Regions from separate parts of the Homo sapiens genome. Here region 2 is linked to region 1. Evidence: promoter capture Hi-C in 16 types of primary human blood cells and fetal thymus (Javierre and others, 2016). All regions are on one chromosome and are shown on one strand. The core of a region is centred on a gene start or on the middle of the fragment in contact, and the rest is flanking DNA. Distances in the headings are between cores, read along the strand shown. Region 1 holds the start of MED9 (mediator complex subunit 9). Region 2 overlaps TOM1L2 (target of myb1 like 2 membrane trafficking protein).

Evidence for each region. The method cuts DNA at HindIII sites, captures the fragments that hold promoters and counts their contacts. A CHiCAGO score of 5 or more calls a contact.
Region 2: a fragment that was not itself captured here is called in contact with the fragment with the promoter of MED9 in region 1 in 1 of 17 cell types (naive B cells); the score reaches 6.0 in naive B cells.

What each region holds. Positions count from the first base shown.
Region 1 is chr17:17,474,874-17,481,110 of GRCh38, reverse strand. MED9 (mediator complex subunit 9) reads right to left here and starts at 4,111. Exons shown (of 2, transcript NM_018019.3): 1 at 3,846-4,111. The coding sequence starts at 4,069. RefSeq lists an enhancer at 4,008-4,107. The HindIII fragment of the contact is 9,122 bases long and covers 1-5,342 here.
Region 2 is chr17:17,920,802-17,928,043 of GRCh38, reverse strand. All of the region lies in intron 1 of TOM1L2 (target of myb1 like 2 membrane trafficking protein), which reads left to right. Among named protein-coding and RNA genes, the nearest start is that of TOM1L2, 48 kb to the left of the region's middle. RefSeq lists enhancers at 4,501-5,033, 5,034-5,567, 5,568-6,101, 6,636-7,169, 7,170-7,242 and a silencer at 6,195-6,489. The HindIII fragment of the contact is 826 bases long and covers 988-1,813 here.

The DNA.
Region 1 (6,237 bases), core at 2,862-5,361:
CCTGGCTCTTCCCTCCTCCCCAGCCACCTCTTCCTGCCTTGGATGTATGCTCAACACCACCAAGCTAGAAGCTGACTCCCATGAGTAGATGCTATTTCTTGGCTTCGTGTCCTTACATGTTTTTCCTATACCAACATTCCTCCTGCCTCCCTTTCCTAATTGAAGACTCATTGTTGGCATCACTCTTACCAAGCCTTCTGACTCCCCCAGGCTTCACGAGGTCTCCTCTCCCTTCCTCCTCTGCCCTTATTCCTCCCTCATTTGCCTATAAACTCAAAGACACGCCTATACTGAAGGTTTGCAGGTTGGATCCTAGCCTCTTCTCATGTTTACAGCTGCAGAACCACTCCATTCCTTTGTGGCTACTGTTTCCTCCACGTGGCTTTTTCTGCTCTTCTGTCTTGTCTTTCTCTTTTTTCCTCTCTCTCTCTGTCTCCTCTCTTTCTTTCTTTCTTCTTTGAGACAGAGTCTATGTCACCCAGGCTGAAGTGTAGCAGTGCGATCATGGCTCACCGTAGCCTCAGCTCCCTGGGTTCAAGCTATCCTCCCATCTCAGCCTGCCCAGGTGCTGGGCTTGCAGACAGACATGAGGCACCGCGCCTGACCCGTGTCTTTCTTACCAGGGGGTTTCTTCCTATGCTTAGTGACCTTGGCCATCCACTCATATATTTAAGAATAAAACACTAAAAGGCTTAGTGGAAGCTCTGCAAATGAGTGATGCTTGTTCATTTTCTCAGAATTAATTGACTAGGCTTTTTTTTTTTCCAATGTCTTTTCTCTTAATTGGTCACGCACCATAGAGAGGGCACTTCCACTCTCTTTGGCTGCCAATCTAGAAGCCAGGTGGGGGAAGGCTCGGGTGGTGTCTCTCTTCAGACTGTGAACTTTCTCTTAATCCCTCTTTTCAGTATGGCTCCCCCTACCTACCCCTGCAGTGTGCCTGGTGTCCCACAGTCAAGGTACTCTCTGGCTTATTCCTTCCTAAGAATAAATCTCGGGAGAGTAACCTTTTAACCATCTGCCAAGTTGGAAGAAGGGTAGTCACCCGGCCGCTTGGAGGGGATGGGAGGTGGGACAGGACTGTGGGGACCTGCTTCTTAAACAGACTTCCAAGTAATCTTCCTGTTCTTAGACCCACCTTCACCCCTATTTCCAGGGGGTCCTTGCACTAGAGTTCCTGAGATCTGGGGATAGGCCATGGTTAACAAACCAGGTGCTTAGGAGTTGGTAGATGAATTAGCCCTGGTCATCCACTTTGTGGCAATCATCTCCTGTCCTATTCTTTTTGGTTTTATGCTTTTTATTTTTGACACAGGGTCTCATTCTGTCACCCATGCTAGAATGCAGTGGCATGATCTGGGTTCAAGTGATCCTCCCACTTCAGCCTCCCAAGTAGCCAGGACTGCAGGCACACACCACCATGCCTGGCTAATTTTTTTTGTATTTTTTGTAGGGACGGGGTTTTGCCATGTTGCCCAGGCTGGTCTTGAACTCCCAGGCTCAAGCGACCGGCTCGCCTCAGCCTCCTAAAGTGTTGGGATTACAGGCATGAACCACCATGTCTGAAGGTTTTATGCTTTTTTTTTTTTTTAAACTCCCTTCTCTGTCCTTTTAGATGGAACAGAGACAAGCACATGTGATCAACCCACTATGTTTCACAGGTACACTCCTGAGTACATCTCCCAACAATCCTATGACATAAGCATTCCCATTTCACAAGAGAAAAACAGGCTCAGAGAAGCTAAGCTACTTGCCAAGGTCACCCAGTCAGCACATTATAGAGCTATGACATAATCTGAACCTCTCTTTTGAGGTCCACTATGGACATATTAGAGATAAGAAGATTATGGCCTAGAAAGGTTAGGCATTTATATCAAGATTAGAAGGCAAGAAAATGTCAGTACACAGATTTGAACACAGGGCTGTCTAACTTCAAAGCCTGTTCTCTCTAGTATAACTTACTACTACATCTTTTAAGGCCAACCCAACCCAGCTGCTCTACCAGGGCTCAAGAATATACTCTTGGGGAGTTCAAGAGCTGTCCTTGTGAATGTGTACATTTTGTGTTTTCATTTTTCCACATTTTTCTTAAAACCAGTAAACTAGGGTTAATCAGAATAAACCCTTTATAATCCAGCACTGCCCTAGGATTACAGGGGCTCCATATGTATTTCTGTCTATGATCATTATCACAGGCTCACGAAAACTGAATAGGCTGCCTTATCCTATAAGCATTACTTTTTTTTTTTTTTTGAGGCAGAGTCTTGCTCTTGTTGCCCAGGCTGGAGTGCAATGGCATGATCTCGGCTCACTGCAACCTCCACCTCCCGGGTTCAAGTGATTCTCCTGCCTCAGCCTCCTGAGTAGCTGGGATTACAGGCAGCCGCCACCACACCCGGCTAATTTTTGTGTTTTTAGTAGAGATGGGGTTTTGCCATGTCGACGAGGCTGGTCTCAAACTCTGACCTCGTGATCCGCCCGCCTTGGCCTCCCAAAGTGCTGGGATTACAGGCATGAGACACCATGCCTGGCCCCTATAAACAGTATTTAAACACCAAGTGAAACCAAATGAAGCCAGGGTCTAATGTGAGAACAAAGCCTTTGTAGTTATTTGAAAAGTGGCAGAAGAGCATCAGGTCATCCCACAGCAAGTGAATCTAATTTGCTTAAACTCAAAAGTGGGTGGGCCACTAACAGTCAAGACCTTCACGTTGTAACAATTCCATTTCAGTAAAACAGTGAAGAGCACATTCATGTTCACCTGAATGTTACTGGAATCGTAATTTTCTTTTAATTTACTTTGTTTTGGTCTTTAATGGTTGAGTAAGAGTTACAAGCCTAGGGGTTTACACCTAGTATCACGTGGATATACAGTGAAGTAACATAATGAAAATAATTTACAGCCTGGGCAACATGGTGAAACTCCATCTCTACAAAAAATACAAAAATTCGCTGGGTGCCATGGCTCATGCCTGTGGTTCCGGTTACTTGGGAGGATGAGGTGGGAGGATGGCTTGAGGCCAGGAGGTTGAGGCTGCAGTGAGCCGAGATCACGCCACTGTACTCCAGTCTGGGTGACAGAGCGAGACCCTCTCTCAAAAAAAATAATAATTTAGGCAAACATAAGGATCAGTGAGACTTTTGTGTTTTTGTTTTTGGTTTTTCCTCTACAGAGTCACTTTGAAAACTCAGGCTACCCTGAAGGCTGGCCAAAAGGATGACAACAATTATTTCCTTTGGTACTGTTAGAACAAAGTCAGTACAAGTGGGTCTAATCATCTGAGGCAACTTCTGTGTTTCTGCTTAGTCTAATGTTTCCCATCGCCACCACTCCCGTCTCAATCTTTTTGAATTGTGGGTTATTCCCAATCATGTCTTTTTTTCCTTCTATCTAAACCTTTGGGGGTGAAAAGTTGGCCCCTTTTACTGCGTCCATCCCGTAGCACTTGGCACAGGGAAGATGATGCTTATCTGTTGAGTTTGCTGAACTAAGGAACTAAAGTGAGTATTACCAACATTAAAGGTGAGAAAACTGAGGCTTAAAGAGATTTAATTTGCTCAAGATCGCTGGGATGAACATTTGAGCCGCTGGACAAGAGTCTGCATTTAGTCTCTAAGCTGGCTTCATTCTTAAGGATATCGCACCTCTCGAGGCTCAAATCGTTTGCTTAACTCATGGAATGTCTCTGTGGTCTTGGGAAAGGCCTCTTCCCGCTCTGGGTCTGAGTTTCCCCATCTGTGAAACGGGGGCGTGCCCCAGAGCGCCAAGGCCTCTTGCAGCTCTGAAACGGCTGAGAGGAGAAGCTGGAGGGAGTATGGGGCCTGGTCCTCTCCTAGGTTCTTACCATTTGATGATGTTGTGAACCAAAGGTAAAAAGGAGTAGTTCTCTTCCTCCCTCGCGCGGGCAGGTGACTGAGGCCGTGGCGCCGGCGACTGCTGCGGTTGAGGCGCAGGGACCGGCGGCGGCTGAGGAGGCGGCAGCGGCTTGGTGTCAGGCAGCGGCTGGTCGGACGTTGGCGGCAATACATCCTCCGCCTGTCGCCCGGCTGCCACCCCAGCAGAGGCCATGGCTCCGGGGGTAGGTTAGCCAGAGGTCGGGTCGCCAAAAGCGTCGCGCACTCTACACGTCACCACCGCGCGCCCTGCAGGGGCGGGGTGTGGAGGAAGGCTCTGAGCGTGCGCACTGGGCAGTCGGCGGGAAAAGGCGCGGAGGCGGGGGTGGGGAGGCTGTTGCTAGGCAACGGGCCGTGGGTGGGTCTGGGGTGCCTGGATTTGGATTGTGAGTCAAGATTGCTAAATTATTAAATAGTGAGAAATAGGGGTTTATTTCAGAAATAACAATCTTTTTTTTTTTTTTGAGACGGAATTTCGCTCTTGTTGCCCAGGCTGGAGTGCAGTGGCGCGATCTCGGCTCACCGCAACCTCCGCCTCCCGGGTTCAAGCGATTCTCCTGCCTCAGCCTCCCTAGTAGCTGGGATTACAGGCATGCACCACCACGCCCGGCTAATTTTATATTTTTAGTAGAGACGGGGTTTCTCCATGTTGATCAGGCTGGTCTCGAACTCCCCACCTCAGGTGATCCGCCCGTCTCGGCCTCCCAAAGTGCTGGGATTACAGGCGTGAGCCACTGCACCCGGCCAGAAATAACAATCTTCTTATTCCTATTCACACGATGAAGAGGGCCCCAAAGCCACAAACACAGGAAGCCTTGAGATTAGTAAGGTGCAGCCTGGCCCAGTGCACCCAAGTCTGGAGAGGAGCCACTGGACCTGTGGGAGGCGTAGACAGCACTTACCTGCTGGGTGAGGCACCAAACCCGGCCCAGCCCACAGTGCAAGACATCGAGACCTCGAGTTTAGCCCTAAGGACGCAGAGGCAAAGGGATTGCGGTCCCTTCAATGCTGCAAGGTTGCTTAGAAAGAGTCTAATAATTCAACTCAACACACATTTAGTATGCACCTGCTGGATGGCCACCTGTATGTGTGGTTGCAGGCAGGCTGTCCTTGCTTTCAGTACAAGGTAGAGGGGATTGGTGCCAGGAGTAAATATCATATCCTGGAAGAACGACAAGGTCAGGTACTCTCCATACCTTCGGGCCAGTTCCCCAAGCCCCTAGGTCCCAGTTTCCTCACCCCTAAAATCATATTTAGTTCAGATTCATGGCACAGCCTAAACTGCATTCTAACTTCACATGCGTGGCTGACCCCAAAAGGTCTTGTTGGCATGAGGACTCCCTAGGATCATAGGCCAAAGATGGGTTTATGGTTATGCTTCTCAAAACAAGTTTGATATGAGGGCTGTGTAGTAATTTTCCGGGCAATGGGGACACCCACCCCAAGCTTAGCTAGTGAGTAGAAGACATGAGTGGGGAAAGCTGTCAACTGGTGAGCCCATTCTGCTGTAATCCACCATCATGGGCAGTACAGAGAGGCGAGGAGGTCCACATCCACATAGCATGATGAACAGGAGCCTTAAGAGCAAGGTGGCCAGGGAAAGGATCAATGCTGATATTTTCAGGCACATTGGGAGGGCTGTGCGGAGGCAGATCCTTGGGGAGTAGGACCATAGATGGAAGTGCTGTTGGAGGGTGCGCTGTACAGGTTCTGTAGTAAAGGGCCTCAGCACAGCTCTCTGCAGCAAGAGCTGCCCACGGTGCCCCAGAGAGAGAGCAAAGGGAGGGAGTGGGTTGCGGAGTTTTCTTCCTTCTAACCATTGACCTCTCCAACTAAGGGAAAGTTCAAGAGTTCTGGTTGAGCATGGAGGAGAAAAAGGCCAGATGTGCTTGAAGAGACTGTATACCCTTGGAGTCATCTGGGGAAAGATGATATAGTAATAGTAATAATAATAGTAATTACCACAACTACCATGGAGTAAAAGTAGATACAGGGAACAGAGTTACAGTCACTGTCTCAATCCACAGACAGAGGTCTAGAAGATGGATGTCAGGATCCCCATTTTCTAGATGAGAAAACCAAGACTTACAATGGTTAAGATCCCAGCCTAAGGGTCAACGCAGTTGCTGATGCCAAGTCTATGATCTTAACCAACACTAAAGAGACTTCGGATCCCTACCAGTTCTGTAACTTTATGATTCAAAATGTTAAAGTGGGTTTGAATTCAGAATTCAAAAACCAATCCAATATTCATCAATAATATCCCCATGGCAATCACACGTCATCTTTGCCCTCCCAGAGTGTTTTATAACTTAATTATGAGCCACAACTATATCATTGTCA
Region 2 (7,242 bases), core at 151-2,650, 450 kb before region 1:
TAGCCCCACACACTTTTATCCTGGATTATTTTTCAGTAAATCCCAGACATCATATAATTTCATCTATGAATACCTAAGTATGCATTTCTAAAAGATAAGGAATCTTTTTAAAAGTATAGCTGACTGGGTGTGGTGGTTCATGCCTGTAATCCCAACACTTTGGGAGGCCTGGGTAACATAGTGAAACCCTGGCTGTACCACGAATACAAAAATTAGCCAGGTGTGGTGGCACATGCCTGTAGTCCCAGCTACTCAGGAGGCTGAGGGTGGGAGGCTCACTTGAGCCTGGAAGGTTGAGGCTGCAGTGAGCCAAGATTGTGCCGCTGCATTCCCAGCCTGAGTGACTGAGTGAGATCCTGTCTCAAAAAAAAAAAAAAAAAGTATAGCCAACAGCTTATTATCATATCTAAAATAAATTAATCATAATCCTTAATATCATAAAATATCTAGTCATCCAACTGACAGTTTAAGATTCCCTAGTGTTTTCTGTGGCCATTCTCACGAGGCCAAATGTTTATTTGCTCCACCATGTTCTTCAGGGAATGTTTCCCTTGATGTATCACATTGAGGTTGAGTTCTTTATCAAGAAAGGTCTGCATGCAGGTCCTGGCCTCAGAAAGAGATGGAGGGAAAGAAGAAGGGATAAAGAGAGGCCTCTCTCCACAGCCTCTGCAGCTGGCCTCATGTGGTTTGCGCCACATAGGGTGGTAGGTTCTCTCTGCCCGTTACTCACATGGTAAACCCAGCTGTGCTGCTTTATCCACATACCAGCTTGACTTGGTACAGTGTGCTGAAAATAATGTCGGGCCTGTCCCTTTGGACTCCACCCCCATTGAAGAATGCAGTTTCATGCTGTTGGTTTTTTTAGTGCTAAAGAAACTAGATAGATACTGTGTTTATTTTTCTACAGTAAAAATCCGAAAAGCTAGGAAAATGCCTATTCCCTGTTGGATTTTGATCTTATTTGCATGTTTCCCTTGGCAAGCTTTGTTTCGTATTATTCAAGGTGACCCACTTAGAACTACTGTTTAAAGTCACATTGTCATTAATAAGTTACACAACCTGTGTGTGATAAGTCTGTTAGCCCTGAATATTGTATAAACAGGAATACATGCTTGTGTTGGGGCTCTTCTTCATATTTAAATATGGTTACATTTCTTTTTCTTTTTCTTTCTTCCTTTTTTTTGAGACAGAGTCCCTCTCTGTCGCCCAGACAGGAGTGCAGTGGTGTGATCCTTGCTCACTGCAACCTCTGCCTCCCAGGTTCAAGCGATTCTTGTGCCTCAACCTCTCAAGTAGCTGGGATTACAGGCGTGTGCTACCAGGCCCAGCTAATTTTTGTATATTTTGTAAAGATGGAGTTTCACCATGTTGGCTGGTCTTGAACTCCTGAGCTCAAGCAATCCGCCCGCCTCGGCCTCCAAAACTGCTGGGATTACAGGTGTAATCCATCACACCAGGCCCAAATATGGTTACATTTAAATGTAATCTTCCCTGTTTGTTCTCACTGTTGATATTCGTGACCTTTCTATGTTGATGAATAGGAGTAATTTCCCAGATGATCTAGAACCCTATTGTATTTGGCTTTGGAATGTGAAACACGTGTACATTTATGTCCGCATCTCCCCTTGTGCCAGTCCAGACTGGCTCTCAGTTTGGTCCTCCTTAACTAGCTGGGTACCCTGGGTGACCTCCTTTGGGACAAGGGAGAGTTAGCAGGGAGGCCTGGTCAGAATAAAATGCCTTTTGAGAGATATTGGGGTTACCAGGCTTTTATCCTTAAGTCTGTATGTTCAGACTAAGTAATGAAGCTTACTTATGTTTAGGCCAGCTTGAAAGCTTGTACCTAGCTTTTTTTTTTTTTTTTCTCCAAGAGACAGAGTTTTACTCTGTCCCCCAGGCTAGAATACAGTGGTATGATCACAACTCACTGCGGCCTCGACATCCTGTGCTCAAGTGATCCTCTCACCTCAGCCTGTGGAGTAGCTGGGACTACAGGTGCGTGCCACTGAGCCCTGCTAATTTTTAAATTTTTGGTAGAGACAAGGTCTTGCTGTGTTACCCAGGCTGGTTTTGAATTCCTGGGCTCAAGTGGACTTCCTGCCTTGGCCTTCCAAAGTGCTGGGATTATGGGCATGAGGCACCACGACTAACCTATAGCCTATACCTAGCTTTTTTTTTTTTTTTTTGAGACAGGGTCTCACTGTGTCACCCAGGCTAGAGTACAGTGGCACCATCATAGCTTACTGCAGCCTCCATCTCCTGGGCTCAAGCGATCTTCCTACCTCAGCCTCCCAAGTAGCTGGGACTATAGGCATGCGTTACCACATCTGGCTAATTTTTTTTTTTTTTTTTTTTTTTGGTAGACACGAGGTGAGGTCGCTATGTTGGCCAGGCTGGTCTTGAACTCCTGAGCTCAAGAGATCCTCCCACCTCAGCGTGGCAAAGTGCTGGGATTAGAGGCATGAGCCACTGCGCCTGGGCTATACCTGGCTATTTTTGATGGAAGAATTAAATAACTGGCTTTTAGTTTTGGTCATTAGTTTGCCACTTTCTTTCTTAGTCTTTTGCTGTATAATATCCTCTTTCCTTCTTTTTGTAACAGTAATAACATAAAAAATTTTTAAAGTTTGCCTTTAAGCCAAATACTTCAACACACTGATTATTTTCACTTTTTCCCATTTATCTTCCAGGCATTATCCATATGCATGTTTTTTTAAAAATCAATTTTGTGTCTTTTTTTTCTTACATCATTACAAAATGTTTCTATATGGTTTTAAGAATTATTACTTATAATGGCTGTATTAGGTTGTTCTTGCATTGCCATAAAGAAATACCTGAGACTAGGTAATTTATAAAAGAGGTTTATTTGGCTCATGGTTTTGCAGGCTGTATAGGAAGCATAGTACTGGCAGCTGCTTCTGAGGAGGCTTCAGGAAGCTTTTACTCATGGCAGAAGGGGAAGGGAGAGCAGGCACCTCACATGGTGAAAACAGGAACAAAAAACAGAGAGAGAGAGTGGAGGAGGGAGTGCCACACACTTTTAACTGACCAGATATTGCAAGAATTATCACAAAGACATCATCAAGGCATGAAGGATCTGCCCACCAGGCCCTACCTCCAGCATTGGGAACTACAATTCAACATAAGATTTGGGTGGGGACAAATATCCAAACTATATCAATAGCTATATAATATTCAGTGGAATCAATATACTATATTTAATCATCACTTTTTTATTTTATATTTGAGAAGTTTTAAGAATTTTATTTTATTTTTGAGGCAGGGTCTCACTCTGTCCCTCAGGCTGGAGTGCAGTGATGTGATCACGGTTCGCTGCAGCCTCAGTCTTCCGTGCTGAAGCAATACTCCTATCTCAGCCTCTTGAGTAGCTGGGGACTACAGGCATGTACCACCATGCCTGGCTAATTTTGTATTTTTTGTAGAGGCAAGGTTTATGTTGCTCAGGCTGGTCTCAAACTCCTGGGCTTAAGTGATCCTCCTGCTTGAGCCACTGCACCCAGCTAAGGATTTTAAATAATACTACATTGAACACATTCCTAGTAGCTTTTCTCCCATTTTTCAACAGCTTTATTGAGATATAATTCATATGCCATACAATTCACCCATTTACAATGTACAAGTCAGTGGTTTTTAGTATAGTCACAGAGTTTTTTTTAAAAAACATTGTATTCACAGCGTTGTTCAGCCATTACCACAATCAGTTTTAGAACATTTTCATCATTCCGTACCCATTAGCAATCACTCCCCATTTCCCCCAGCCCTTCCAACCCCAGGCAATCACTAATCTATTTTCTGTCTCTATAGATTTGCCTATTCTGGACATTTTATATAAATGGAATCATACAATATGTAGTCATTTTTACCTTTGTTTTTGTTTTTGTTTGAGACAGAGTCTTGCTCTGTTGCCCATTCTGGAGTGCAGTGGCGCGATCTCGGCTCACTGCAACCTCTGCTCCTGGGTTCAAGTAATTCTCCTGCCTCAGCCTCCCGAGTAGCTGGGATTACAGGTGCATACCACCATGCCTGGCTAATTTTTGTATTTTTTTAGTGGAGACGGGGTTTCACCATGTTGGCCAGGCTGGTCTCAAACTCCTGACCTTATGATCTGCCCACCTCGACCTCCCAAAGTGCTGAGATTACAGGCGACAGCCACCGCGCCCGGCCTTTTTTTTTCTTTTTTAGACACAAGTTCTTGCTCTGTCTCTCAGACTGGAGTGTCTCCCAGCCTCCAGTTCCTGGGCTTAAGTGATCCTCTTGCCTCCCAAGTATCTTTTTTACCATTTTAAAGATGTGTATAACATAAAATCTACAATTTTAACTTTTTTCTTTTGAGATGGGGTCTCACCCTCTTGCCCAGGCTGGAGTGCAGTGGTGCGATCACGACTCACTGTAGCCTTGACCTCCTAGCCTCAAGTGATCCTCCTGCCTCAGGCTCTGGAGTAGGTGAAACTACAGATGCTCACCACTGCGCCCAGCTAATTAAAAAAAAATTTTTTTTTGTAGAGACAGGGTCTCCCTATGTTGCCCAGGCTTAAAAATACATGTTAATACAAGTGTTGAAGTTTTACCATGGGTGTTTGTTGTTGTTGTTGTTGTTGTTGTTTTGTTGTTGTTGTTTGAGATGGAGTTTCACTCTTGTCGCCCAGACTGGAATGCAGTGGCGCGATCTCGGCTCACTGCAACCTCCACCTCCCGGGTTCAAGTGATTCTCCTGCCTCAGCCTCCCAAATAGCTGGGATTACAGGCACCCACCACCACGCCTGGCTAATTTTTTTGTATGTTTAGTAGAGACCAGGATTTCATCAAGTTGGCCAGGCTGGTCTTGAACTCTTGATCTCAGGCGATCCGCCTGCCTTGGCCTTCCAAAGTGCTGGGATTACAGGCGTGAGCCACTGCGCCCAGCCAACACTGTGGCTTTAATGAGCACAGCAGGTATGAGCCCTGGGAAACTTCTGGGAGTCTTTCTCCTGGTGTGGAATTTTGTAATCACTCTTTGAGGCCTTTTTATAGCCTTGTTCCTGGTGATGCCTGCGGTCCCTGGTTGGCCTCACAGGCTAGTTGGTGCCTGGCCAACAGATTGCAGCCTTGTCCTGGTCCTCTCTGCTCACACTCCAGGAGGCAGTTAAGGTGGCCACTTCACTATTCCACCTGGAGGCTGCAATAAAAGCATTGGAGACAGTCACCCTCCCCTTCTGCTTCCCCGCTGGAATTCCGTCTTTCCTGAGATGCAGTCCACAGAATACACAAGTTAAGAATTGTGGTTCATATTTATTGCGCCCTCACTATGTTCCAGGTTCCCTGTTTCGTGTCTTATATCACTAACTTATTTGATCTTAACCACACCCTGTGAGGAGGTACAATTGTTTTGCCCGTTTTATGGATGAAATTCAGAGAGCGTGAGAAATGTGTCCTAGGTCAGAGAGAGCCAAGACTGACCCCCAGTCCCCAGATTCAAAGCCATGACCTTGACCAACATGCTGTCCTGTCTCCTTTTCTCACTGAGCAGTTGTGATAACCTGCCCCCTGCTTCCTGCCTGCAGTCTCTCCACTCCACTACAGCCCCCATGCTGTTACCAGAGCGATCTGTCTCAGACATAAATATTCTTGTCACTCCTGTTGAAAAGCCCCATGTTGCCTCCTGTGGAAAGCCCAGACTCCTTAGAGAAAATGAAAGGACACTCCAGAGCTGGCCTCCTCTCACCGCTCCCCTTCACCGAGGCCCTGGCCCTGGGAGGCTGTTTGCATAGCCTATGATGTTCCTCTCTCTTCAAATTCCTGCTCTTTCCTTGTACCAGGCCCATTTCTTAGCTTTCACAGTCCCCTCTGCTCCCCTGTTCAGCCTCAGGTCTGTGCCCTGTGTCCTGGATGGCTGGCTGCAGGTCTTTCCTGGGGAGTGCTTTCAGTGTAGGGGCTCCATCTTACTTCTTTCCATCCCAGTCTGGCAGGGAGAGGCCTCACAGTTGAAGTTTTTAAATTGAGCTGGGAAGTCTTTGGATAATCCTTCCCAAGGAGTGGCATTCACATCTCTGGGATGTGTCTCTGTCATCGGGAGAAGCTCAAAAAAAAGGCTGGTGACAGTGTGGCACACTGTGAAATTCTCAGGCACACCTCCTCTCTTCTCTGAGAGTGCTGGTGGTGAATGGTGGGCACGAGGGCGAGGGGAACAGCCCCTGGGAGGCGCTCTGGGGAAGAAGAAATTGGCAGCAAAGCAGACTGCACGAAGAGGCCGAGAGGAAGACAGGACAGGTGAATCCCACCCCCCCACCCCGCCCCCACTTTCCCTTATCTGCTCTGCTTTAAGCAGAAACTGTAACCTGATCACCAGGTCACAGAGAAACTTTGATCCTCCCAGCCACCCCCACCTGTCTGACATTAGAGCACAGCCTGCTAGGCTGGGACAAGCTGGCCACAGCCCCCTCTTCCCCAAAGCCTGGCACCATCTTGGGGCCTGGCTGGCTCCTGCAGAGGCCTTTCCTCCCCCATGGCCAATTTCCATCCTGGCCCTAAATTGGCCTCTTCCCCCAGCTACTCTCACACACTGACTCACACGTAAGTTATTCCATTAAGTACAAAGAACGGCATACATCAAATACCAGTGGCTCTGCTTCTAGAGAGCACACCCCAAATGCATTTTAAATCTGTGGATCCTCCTCAAGGGAATTCCAGTTAAAAAAGAACTTGGGTCAGCAGCCTCGGGCCTGTGTGGCTAACAAGCTTCTGTTTTCTCTGTTGTTTGGCTGGCCTGAAGGGTTCCTTTGTTTGGGGAGTGGGAGGATGTGGTGTCCTAATGAGGCCAGGGTGTGGAATTGGGGCTCACACAGAGCTGTCCTTTAGAACTGAGCTCTCCAGACAGGAGAATAAGTTGGGGAGTTTGAGAGTTTATTGGTCTTTAAAGAAAACAGAAGGTTTCAAAGAGAGGAAAACAAAATGCAGTGTGGTATTCTGGATCGGATCATGAGCAGAAAAAGGGCATTATTGGAAAAACTGGAGAAATCCAAATAACATCTGGAGTTCAGTTAATAGTACTATACCAATGTTAACTTTTTAGTTTTGGCCTGTGTGCAGTGGTTATGTAAGATGTGAACTGCCTGCAACGGTGGCTCACACCTGTAATCCCAGCACTTTGAAGGCTGAGGCGGGTGGATCACCTGAGGTCAGGAGTTTGAGACCAGCCTGGCCAACATGGTGAAACCCCCGTCTCTACTAAAAATACAAAAA